2 separate regions of the Homo sapiens genome follow, and region 1 is linked to region 2. The links are contacts of gene promoters, found by promoter capture Hi-C in blood cells and fetal thymus (Javierre and others, 2016). All regions are on one chromosome and are shown on one strand. Each heading gives the region's core, a stretch centred on a gene start or on the middle of the fragment in contact. The rest is flanking DNA. Distances are from core to core; before and after follow the strand shown.

Region 1 (6,199 bases), core at 3,247-5,746, 66 kb before region 2:
TCTCACTTCATTTCATTCATTTGATCTTCCATCACTGATACCCTTTCTTCCAGTTGATCCAATTGGCTACTGAGGCTTGTGCATTCATCATGTAGTTCTTGTGCCATGGTTTTCAGCTCCATCACATCCTTTTAGGACTTCTGTGCATTGGTTATTCTAGTTAGCCATTCGTCTAATTTTTTTCAAGGTTTTTAACTTCTTTGCCATGGGTTCAAACTTCCTCCTTTAGCTTGGAGTAGTTTGATCATCTGAAGCCTTCTTCTCTCAGCTCTTCAAAGTCATTCTCCATCCAGCTTTGTTCTGTTGCTGGTGAGGAGCTGCATTCCTTTGGAGGAGGAGAGGTGCTTTGATTTTTAGATTTTTCAGTTTTTCTGCTGTTTTTTCCCCAACTTTGTGGTTTTATCTACCTGTGGTCTTTGATGATGGTGACGTACAGATGGGGTTTTGGTGTGGATGTTCTTTCTGTTTGTTGGTTTTCCTTCTAACAGTCAGGACCCTCAGCTGCAGGTCTCTTGGAGTTTGCCGGAGGTCCACTCCAGACCCTGCTTGCCTGGGTATCAGCAGTGGAGGCTGCAGAACAGTGGATATTGGTGAGCAGCAAATGTTGCTGCCTGATCGTTCCTCTGGAAGTTTTGTCTCAGAGGAGTACCTGGCCATGTGAGGTGTCAGTCTGCCCCTACTGGGGGGTGCCTCCCAGTTAGGCTACTCGGGGGTCAGGGACCCACTTGAGGAGGCAGTCTGTCTGTTCTCAGATCTCAAGCTGCATGCTGGGAGAACCACTACTGTCTTCCAAGCTGTCAGACAGGGACAGTTAAGTCTGCAGAGGTTTCTGCTGCCTTTTATTTGGCTATGCCCTGCCCCCAGAGGTGGAGTCTACAGAGGCAGGTAGGCCTCCTTGAGCTGTGGTGGGCTCCACCCAGTTCGAGCTTCCCAGCTGCTTTGTTTATCTATTCAAGCCTCAACAATGGCAGGCGCCCCTCCCCAAGCCTCGTTGCTGCCTTGCAGTTTGATCTTAGACTGCTGTGCTAGCAATAGTGAGGCTCTGTGGGCGTAGGACCTTCTGAGCCATGCACGGGATATAATCTCCTGGTGTGCCTTTTGCTTAGACCATCAGAAAAGTGCAGTATTAGGGTGGGAGTGACCTGATTTTCCAGGTGCCGTCCATCACCCCTAGGAAAGGGCATTCCCCGACCCCTTGCACTTCCCGCATGAGGTGATGCCTCGCCCTGCTTCAGCTCAGGCTTGGTGCACTGCACCCACTATCCTGCACCCACTGCCCAACAATCCCCAGTGAGATGCACCCGATACCTCAGTTGGAAATGCAGAAATCATTCATCTTCTGCATTGCTCACACTGGGAGCTGTAGACTGGAGCTGTTCCTGTTCAGCCATCTTGGCTCAAACTAACCCACTCAGACTGTGTTAGTCTGAATGAAGAATATGAAGAAAAAGAATTTAAGAAATTAACAAAGTTTTTGAGAAATATGGAATTTTGTAAAGTGATCAAACCTATGAATTATTGGCATTTCTGAGAGAGAAGGAGAAGGACTCAACAATTTGGAAAATATATATGAGGGATTAATTCAAGAAAATTTTCTTAATCTTGCTAGAGGGATAGACATCCAGATATAGGAAAACCAGAGAACACTTCGCAGATACTGTACAAAATGAACATCACCAAGGCATATAGCCACAGACTGTCAAAGGTCAATGCTAAAGAAAAAAATCTTAAAGCCAGTTAGAGAAAAAGGTCAAACCATGTACAAAGGGAAGCCCATCAGGCTAACAGAGGATTACTCATGAGAAACCTTACAAGCCAGAAGAAATTGGGGGCACATTTACAGCATTCCTAAAGGAAAGAAATTCCATGCAAGAATTTTATATCCCATCGAACTGAACTTCATAAGCAAAGGAGAAACGAAAACTTTTCCAAACAAGCAATCACTAATTTGTTACCACTAGACCAGCCTTAAAAAAGATCCTTAAGAGATTTATAAACATAGAAACGAAAGAACAACATGTGCAACCACAAAATCACATGTAAATACATAGTCCACAGTCCCTATACAGCAACCATGCAATGGAAACAACAAAGCCATCAGCCATCAACTTCACAAGAGGATTAAAACTTCACATATCAATATTAACCTTGAATGTAAATGATCTAATGCCCCACATAAATAGCACAAAGCTGCAAATTGGAAAAAAAAAACAAGACCCATTTGTATACTGTCTTCAAGAGACTAATTTCATATGTAATGACACCTATAGTCTCAAAGTAAATGGGTTAGAGAAAGATCTATCACGTAAACTAAAAACAAAAAAGAACAGGGATATATATATATATATATATATATATATATATATATATATACGCATATCAGATAAAACAGACTTTAAATCAACAAGTAAAGAAGGGCAAAGAAGGGCACTACATAAACTATAGTTCAACATGAAGATTTAACTATCCTAGATATATATGCATCCAACATTGGAACACTTAAATTTATAAAACAAGTACTTCTAGACCTATTAAAAGACTTAGATAGCCATACAATAATAGTGGGGGACTTCAATACCCCACTGACAGCATTAGACAGAGCATCAAGGTAGAAAACTAGCAATTCTGGACTTAAAATCAACATTTGACCAATTGGACCCAATAGACATCTACAGATCCCTCCACCCATCAACAACAGAATACATCTTCTTATTTGCGTGTAGAACATACTCTAGGATTGAATACATGCTTGGCCATAAAGCAAGTCTCAATATGTTCAAAATCATTAAAATTATGCCAATCATACTTTCTGATCATAGTGGAATAAAATGGAAATCAATATAAAAAGATTTCTTAAAAACTACAACATGAGTTGGAAATTAAACAACTTGTTCCCAAATGACTTTTGGGTGAACAGTAAAATTAAAGCATAAGTCAAACAATTCTTTGAAATAAATGAAAACAGACACACAACATACCAAAATATCTGGCATGCAGCAAAAGCAGTGGTAAGAGGAAAGTTTATAGCACTAAATGTCTACATAAAGAAGTTAGAAAGATCTCAAATTAACAATCTAACTTCATCCCTAAAGGAACCAGGAAGCAGGAAAAACTAGCCCCAAAGCTAGGAGAAGAAAATAAATACTTAAAATCAGAGCAAAATCAAATAGAAGAGACCTAAAAATTCATCCAAAGGATCAATAAAACCAAAAGCTTGTTGTTTGAAAGGATAAACAAGATCAATAGACTGCTAGCTAGATTAGCAAAGAAAGAAAAGTACAATTACAAATGACAAAGCTGACATTATGACCCAGCCCATAGAAAAATAAAAGATCCTCAGATACTATTATGACCACCTCTATGCACACAAGCTAGATAAACTAGAGAAAATGAATACATTCCTAGAAACACACAACCCCCTAAGACTGAATCAGGAACAAACCAAAACCCTGAACAGACCAATATTGAGTTCCAGAATTGAATCAATAACAAAAAAACTTACCAACCAAAATGAGCCCAGGACCAGAGGGATTCACAGCCAAATTATACTAAAGGTACAGAGAAGAGCTGGTACCAATCCCACTGAAACTATTACAAAAAAAACGAGGATGAGGGGCTCCTCTCAACCTCATTCTACAAACCCAGTATCATTTTGATACCAAAATCTGGAAAAGAGACAATGAAAAGGAAAACTATTGCAAATATCCCTGATGAAACAGATGCAAAAATCCTTAACAAACAAACTGAATGCAGCAGTAGCTCAAAAAGCTAATGCACCATGATCAAGTTTGTAGGCTTTATTCCTGGAATGCAGAGTTGGTTCAACAAAAAGCAAATCAATAAATGTGATTCACCAGCTAAATGGAATTAAAAACAAAAACCATATGATAATCTCAATAGATACAGAAAAAACTTTTGATGTAATCCATCATTGTTTCATAATAAAAATCCTCAACAAACTAGGTATTCAAGGAACATACCTCAAAATAATGAGAGCCGTCTATGACAAACCCACAGCCAACATCATACTGAAGGGGCAAAAGCTGGAAACATCCCCTTAAGAACAGGAACAAGACATTAATTCTCACTCTTACCACACCTATTCAACATAGTGCTAGAAGTCCTAGTCAGTGCAATCAGCCAAGAGAAAGAATACAAGGCATCCAAATAGGAAAAGAGGATGCCAAATTCTCTCTGTTTGCTGAATGTAAAATAAAAGTTGAAATAATATAATAAAATCATTATTCAAAAAATTATTAATAGGTATTTTAAAAACACTATTATTACATTAAACATGTCTGAGTATCCTGATACAGGGAAGTCTGTAGGTGTGGCCATCTTTTTTATTTGCTCACATACATTATAGCCAAGTAGGAAACAAAAGCACTTTCAAGACACTTGGGTGAATGGGGTTGTTCCCTGAGAATGAGACTGGGAAAGGACGAGGACTTTTCAACTTTCAAACAAACATTTCATGGTTGGAATAACCACCTATTCCTTGCCTCACTAAACTCTTACCTTGGGTGTGGAAGCAAGCAGATATTAGATGTCCTTTTTGTATCCACTAAGACAATGATATCCAATGTCAAAAGTTTGCCCATGATGGGTGCCTTCACTGGGTTTAGCTACTCTTTACCAGCATCTGTCAAGTGCCCCAGAGTGGGAATCCAATTGAATATAGAGCCACCTTTGTCTAAATCTGCTGCCAAGCAAGGAAGCCAGAAGATGCCTCCAATGGGCCCCTGGAACATAAGCTCCCTGAGAGGGGACTTTGTCTTGTTTCAAACTGATCCAAGTACCTAGACCAGTGCCAAATAAGTATGTAGTGAATGAATAAATTTTTGAATGAATGAGGCTTGGCCTAGAAGTCCCCTGATGAGGACTGAAAAGTCTGTCTTCACACTTACTGAGACCTCACTTGTAGGAATCAGCTTCCAGTGGCGGGTCACCACTGCCATAACTTCTGGCTCCCATGAACTGTACTAATGTCTCAACCCAAACTTTCTTAGTTGATTCTGGTGCCACCTTTCTACATCTTGGGGTAATTCACTGACAGCAGGAGTTCTGGTGGTACTTTGGAGCACAGATCTGACTCCACAGGCACAGCTAGGTCTCTGTGCCCAGGTCTAGGGATCCTTTTTTTTTTTTTTCATATTTCTTAAAACATTTTAGAGGAATTCAGGGTACCATGGTGGTCAGGAGCATGTGGTCAGTGAAACTGTCTGGGTTTGCACGGCAGCTTCTGGGAGACCTTGGGCACCCATTCTACATTGATTCCCCTCTGTAAAATGGGAGAAGGCTAGTATCTAACTCAAAGGACTGCAGTGAGGATTAAGTTATTTACTGTATGTCAAGCCACTGGTACATTATGAGTCCTATATAAATTATAGATCCTATGAATACATATCCAATTTGCAACTCCTGAAATGATCTCATTTTTTCCCCTTTCCCTAAGTTCCTCTCAGTATATGCCCTTGCAAACACCTCCATTTCTCTCTTTGCACCTGTCACCTAATTAGCTTTCAAGGATCCCTTCCTACCCCGTCAACACCCAGATCTTCCCTATAGAAATAATATGAATGTTTTCTCTGCAGCCGTGTGTCCTTCTGCAACCTCTTTCCAGTCCTAACACATAAACTCCTCACGGTCTCCCTATGAATGGAGATAAGTGACATTTCTCATTCTTCTTGTCCTGTGAGGCACTCAGCCTGGGAGATAAGAAGGGGAAGAGCAATGGAGCAGCTTTGGGAGGGGCAAAATAGAAATGTAGGTGGAGAAGAGAAGCTTTATTTTTCACAGAGTGAGACATAAGTGCTGCTAAGCACTGAACAGAACATGGGTGTGGAGACAACCATGAGGGACACCCAGGGAGACCGCTGGAGATCACTGACAACCCTCTTCAGGATGAACTCAGGAGCTCAGACCATGGGCAGGAGGTTAGGAGTGGGTACATCAGACTGAGGTTAATCCTGGGCACTTTGGTCTCTGGTTCCTTTAAAATTGCTCATCTCAATGTACTGCCAAGGTCAGCAGTAATTCTCTAGCAATGGCTGGAGCCCCTGGCAGGCTCACTCACAGCAGTAGAGGCTGTGGTGCCTGTGCCAGTAGAAAAGATGGGGCCTTTGATAGGTCAAGCAGCAGTGCCCCACTAAAGTTAAAGTGACCCCTGAACTGGGGCTGCAGGGAAAGGCTGGAGGTG
Region 2 (5,546 bases), core at 1,512-4,011:
CTTACCAAAATATATCAAAGTTATTTACATATGCCAGATAATTATCTAATTCCTGGCCAACATGGTGAAACCCCATCTCTACTAAAAATACAAAAATTAACCAGGCGTGGTGGCTCGTGGTAGTTTCAGCTACTCAGGAGGCTGAGGCAGGAGAATCACTTGAACCTGGGAGGTTGCAGTGAGCAGATATCATGCCACTGCACTCCAGCCCTGGAGACAGAGTGAGACTCCACCTAAAAAAAATTAAATGCAATGGGAAAATAGTATACATCTGTCATTTATATTCAGCAGAAACACTGGTGAAATAAACTTAATTACCACTATTGTCCATCACTTTATTTTTTCTCCCATCAATTATCATTCAATCCCTCCTTTTTCCTAAAGCGTTCTGGCCAATGTGATATGAGCATCCCTGTGTCTGAACCATTCCTATCTCTTGGATCAATAGTGCAGTCAAGTAAATGCTGAAGCAATGTCTGTCATGTCACAGATCTAGACTGCTAGATTTGCAAGTCTGTCATGTCACAGATCTAGACTGCTAATTGGTGGCTCAGCTTTTAATTCCAGCATTTCTGGTTCATTTTGCCTTTATTTTTTAGCTTTGTTTTCCCCTAGACTCTTCAAGGTTTCTCCTGGTATTTAAAAGAGGGGAGGCAATGGGAATGTCCGACTCCAGTGCCCATGTTCTTGGCCTGCACACTATTCTGCCTCCCATTATCTTAGCTTGCTTCCCTTTCAGATCCAACTTCTCTCAAAGGGCAGCTTCATTTCCTCCCTCTGCCAGGAAACCTTCTGCCCAGGGACTCCTGGCTCTTGGGTCCCATTAGTTCCTCTTAGTCACTTTAGCTAGGCCATCACAGGACCATCAAAGGTCATTTTGCAGGCCAGAAACCTCACCCAACACCCACAAATGATACTAGTGACAATGTCTGGACACTTCACTCTTGTCAGGGAAACAGGGGGTTACCATCCAAAGGATAAGTCCCATGGACTTCCCACACACTTATGTAACAGTCCATATCATTCCAGCTCATAAGTGGATTGCTGACTTGTCAGTCGGCATCTCAAGGATGGGAATCATATTTCACACATTTCTGAGTCCTTTGTGTCAACATATATCTGAACTGTGTCCTCAATTCCTGTTGTTTGAATGAATTAATTAATGAATAAAATAGTATAGACAATTAGTTTTCAACAGTCTTGATAATCAAGGCCAGATATTTGGGTGTTACAGGGACTTCCTGGTTCCCTTCTATCAGAAAACATCTGGGCATCTACTGAATAATTATTGAATTTCCTACTGAGGGGCTAGAGTTTGAAGAGCTGTTACTTGGAGTAGAGTCCATCACTATCATCACTCTCCATGTCCCATCTCCTTTTTTTCTGATTCTAAATCAAAGTAGGAGGAGAAAATACCTTGATCAGCAAACATTCTGAGCCAATTCATCCCTGCCCAAGGCCCTGTTTCCCTGCTGCCCTTAGGTTAGCAAAAACGTGAGCTTAGGGTCATAGGGTCAGGGTCTGAGAAAGACGGTGAGGGACAAGGGGAGACAGATAGGTAGATAGAGATAGATAGATAGATAGATAGATAGATAGATAGATAGATAGATAGATAGATAGAAAACAATGATTTACTTTTTCATTTCTTCCAGGGATCACTGAGCTGAGATGTCCTGAAAGGAAAAACTAACAGCACTGTCAGCCCCCTCCCAAGTGCCTAACCCTCAAGTATCCTTTTGGTTGTTTGCTGCCAGTCTATTTCTGTTGTGGTTCCAGCTCTGCAGGAAGCTGCTACCGGAGTCACCATGGGCCCACAGATCCCACTGACATGCCCAACAGAGCATTCTGGAGGCTCCAGTTGCTGCCACAGCTCTGGGGGCTGCTGTGGTCCTGGGTCATGAAGACTACAGAGTATCAGAGTTGGAGGAACCAGAGGACCAAGGACCTGCTCCCATCTGGAGCTTCTCTTCTTCTCTGCCATCTAGGGCTGAGCTACCAAAGTGTTTTCGGAAGGATCTGAACGGGCCCAGTAAGCTCATTCCCTTTGTTTTCCAGAGCTCTGTGTTTATTTCCAACTCATGCTTCTGTCCTTGACCTTGTGAAAGACTGCTCACCTCATTCCCACACTAATATACAACCCCCCTAAAAGGGTTTTGTGAGTTGAGGGGTGTATGACCCACTTGTGTCTGTTCCTAAGATAGGCCTATGTACCCAATGTGGGGCAGCCCCTGTAAGGCAAAGACGGGAACGCACTGGACAGAGCTTGCAACGAGAAAGCACAGCTTTATTCTTCACAGCACAGGGATATTAAAGAAGGAGGGAAAACACTAAGACCAGCAGGATAAATCCCCTGGGGGAGTACTTGAAACTCATCAAGGAACATCTCAGTAGGAAAGAGGAGACAGGAGCAAAGAAGCACCAGGCTAGGGCTGGTTCCAGTCATTTTGGCACTTTCTTTTCTCAAATATTTTTACTTAATCTCGTGGCTCAGGTCAGCAGCAGCCCGCAGAACTGTGGCCACAGCTGGAGCTCCCGCCTTGCTGACCACTTCCCCTGTCACAGGAGTTGGAGCTCTGGCAACGGCAACGGTGAGACCTGCGGCATCTGTGGTGACTCAGGCAGCAGCTGCGCTCGGAGCTGGGCCCACAGCCCCCAGAGCTTGGGGCACAGCTGGAGGAAGCTGGAGGCAGACACTGTGCTGGGCTCTTTGCAGGGCACTTGGGCGGAGGCTGGCACTGCTGCTGGTTCTGCTGGCAGGACATCTAGGCAGGAGGTCAGGGAGCCTGGGCAAAATAAAAGCAAAGCAAAATACGTGTCAATGCAGGTTTCAGGCCAGGGCCTCCTCATGCTTTGGTTTAATTGTGGATCCCTTCCCCTAAACTCAGTCTGCCCTCCAGCTAAGACCTGGGGAAGGGGAATGCAAACGGATCTGAAGTTAAACCGGCCTGATACTGCCCCTTCCTCCGGCCCTCTCCCCTGCCTGGGAGGCAGCTGACACTCCTGGGTGGGCCTCTGGGGCTCCTGCGCACGCCCTGCGGGGCCTGTCACACCTCCGGACCCGATGCGAACAGCTCCCCCTGCAGGCGTCCCGTGAACACAACGCCCATGACCCTCCAGGGTGGCGTCTCTCTGGACGCCTGTGAGCGCAGGGTGTGAGGAGGCAACGCATCTCTGCGCACATGAGGAAAAGGGGGTTCAGAGGTCGCAGCATCGCGGAGCCCCTGAAGTGGCTCGCAGACTTGTCTGTCTTCCTCACTATCCCGCCCATCTCCCATCCCAGTCCCAGCCGGCCACCCACCACAGCCTCTCTGCCGCCTCCACCGTGTCTGCCTCCTCCCCTCTCCTTGTTGAAGCACAGACGTGTTTGCGCAGCCCTTTCAGCCCAGGTCCTCTCGCCAGCTGGACGCTCACCTGGTTTGGTGGAGGCAGGAGAAGGTTCTTCCTGAGGTGATTGTGGACTGAGGAACCCAGGGCCTCAGCCCTTTTATCCTGGGTATTATGATGCACAGCCCAACTATGTGTCCTCCTTTGCTCCCCAAAGGGAGGGGAAGCACCACACACTCCCAAGGACCAGGCTTTCAGCATATTCTTAAGGCGCATATTTTGAGGAATGACAAAAGGGAAGCAGGAAATCTCGATGACGGTCCAATTATCCACCGTTCAGGCCCTCTGGCTGCTGTTCCACTTTTTTTTCTTCATTCAGCTCACATGCTCTGAAGCCAGGGTACGTCCTTTGTGGGGCCTGGTAATATGGGGACAAACAGAACACATTTCTCCCCTTGACTAGCTCACAGCTTTTCAGAAGGCCAGATGGACAACTGAGCAATTAAATCACATCCTATGTGCTAAGCGACGCAGCACAAGTGTGCACAAACATGGCAGGCTGGGGTCACTGCCTTTGGGTGTCAGTCCCCATTGCTTTGTGGATTCCTTTACATAGGTGATGGAATCAGCCCCTGTGTCCTGAGATGTTGGCTGCACTGAGCTCACTGGACCTGGGTTGAGTAAGGGGTGGAAGAATGGAGCTGGGGCCATGGCTTGAGAGGTAGTGTCTTCAGGGAATATCATGGCATCTTAAAGGTGGCATTGGGCACTGTGGGGGCAGAGGGGTAGAGTGGAGGGAGGTGCAGATGGTATAAAAATGTGACCTCCATCTGTGGGATCAACAGAAATCACACTTAATGGGAAAAAAGGGGCATCCGTTTTTGGCTGTCTGTGAAATGTGCAAGGCTGAATTTAATCCTATATATTATGTTAGTAATTCATTAAAATTTCTTTGAATTTGTTGATAATGATGAGGTTGATGGGGTTGTATGCATTTCACTTAATGAATACCTGTGATAATGCTTGAAGTTTGTATATGATGAATTCATAAAAATGGAATATTATTTACTATTTGGTTTTAGTTATATCAGTGATAAATTTATCAGTGAATTCATCTCTAATAATACAATACAATATGCCATAGCCTCTAAATAAAAACCACTGTAATGAATTTTAAAATAATCTTTATTATACTATATATTCTTCCAAGGAAAATAATCACAATTGAGACAATATTAAGTTTCTAATAATCATGAATTTAAATTATATTGTAATTTTAAGCAAAATGTTATTTTGATCAGAGTATATGAAAGCCTGAAGATGCTTGTTCTTTGGTACAAAATACACTGCTAGAGGATATTAGTTCCTTCTTCCCCTTTGCCTATCACTCCACTTTGAACAAACTGCAATACCATGCATTCTTTTAAGAGTTCTATGAGGTCAGGAGTTCAAGACCAGCCTGTTCAACACGGCAAAACCCCGTCTCTACTAAAAATACAAAAATTAGCTGGGTGTGGTGGTGGGCATCTGTAATCCTAGCTACTCGGGAGGCTGAGGCAGGAGAATCGCTTGAGCTGGGGAGGCAGAGGTTGCAATGAGCTGAGATCGCGCAACTGCACTCCAGCTTGGGTGACAGAGCAAGACTGTCTCAAAAAAAAAAAATAGTTCTGCAGAATTATGAATGGAAGAGTGGGAATTCCTGGTGGAAAGCTGGTGAAAGGCTAGGACAGGTGTGCCAGAAGCATGTTTTTAGGAACATGCTGAATGGGGTCCTCAAGGCTTTGTTAAGTTTTAGTGTCAGAGCTATGCTGGAAGTAACTTTGCCCTTATATCCTTAAGTACTCCTACTTCCTTCCCTCAGAGGATATAATAATAAAAAGAGACAATTGCAAAGGATGTGAATGGGCACTTTTGAAATGCCACACTGGGTGTTGTGAATGAGAAGAGCGTAAAGGAAACATAGATCTCTTCGCACTGCTGCACTGACTTTGCTGGTGGAATGGGTGTGAGAGAAGGACAGGAGGGGATCACCTTGAGGGAAGCATGCTGTTAGTGAAATCTGGGCCTCCTGCAGACTTAATCCTTGTCTGAACCAAATGCCTTTTCCAGACACAGCCCAAAAGGTTGAGGAGAATGGGCTGTGATACCTTCAGAGCAGGGAAAGTACTTATCTCTTGAATTGTTGGTTCACCTAATGCTCTTCTTCTGAGACTGCCAGGCCC

The links. Contacts are between HindIII fragments. The CHiCAGO score rates a contact against its expected background, and 5 or more counts as called.
Region 1: a contact is called between a fragment that was not itself captured here and the fragment with the promoter of LCE3A in region 2, in 8 of 17 cell types (naive CD4 T cells, naive B cells, neutrophils and 5 more). The highest score is 6.4, in naive CD4 T cells.

Annotation. Positions count from the first base shown.
Region 1 is chr1:152,552,520-152,558,718 of GRCh38, forward strand. No RefSeq gene overlaps it. Among named protein-coding and RNA genes, the nearest start is that of LCE3E, 11 kb to the right of the region's middle. The HindIII fragment of the contact is 2,571 bases long and covers 3,212-5,782 here.
Region 2 is chr1:152,620,342-152,625,887 of GRCh38, forward strand. It overlaps LCE3A (late cornified envelope 3A), which reads right to left and starts at 2,762. Exons shown (of 1, transcript NM_178431.1): 1 at 2,493-2,762. The coding sequence starts at 2,762. The coding sequence ends at 2,493. The HindIII fragment of the contact is 6,916 bases long and covers 1-5,546 here.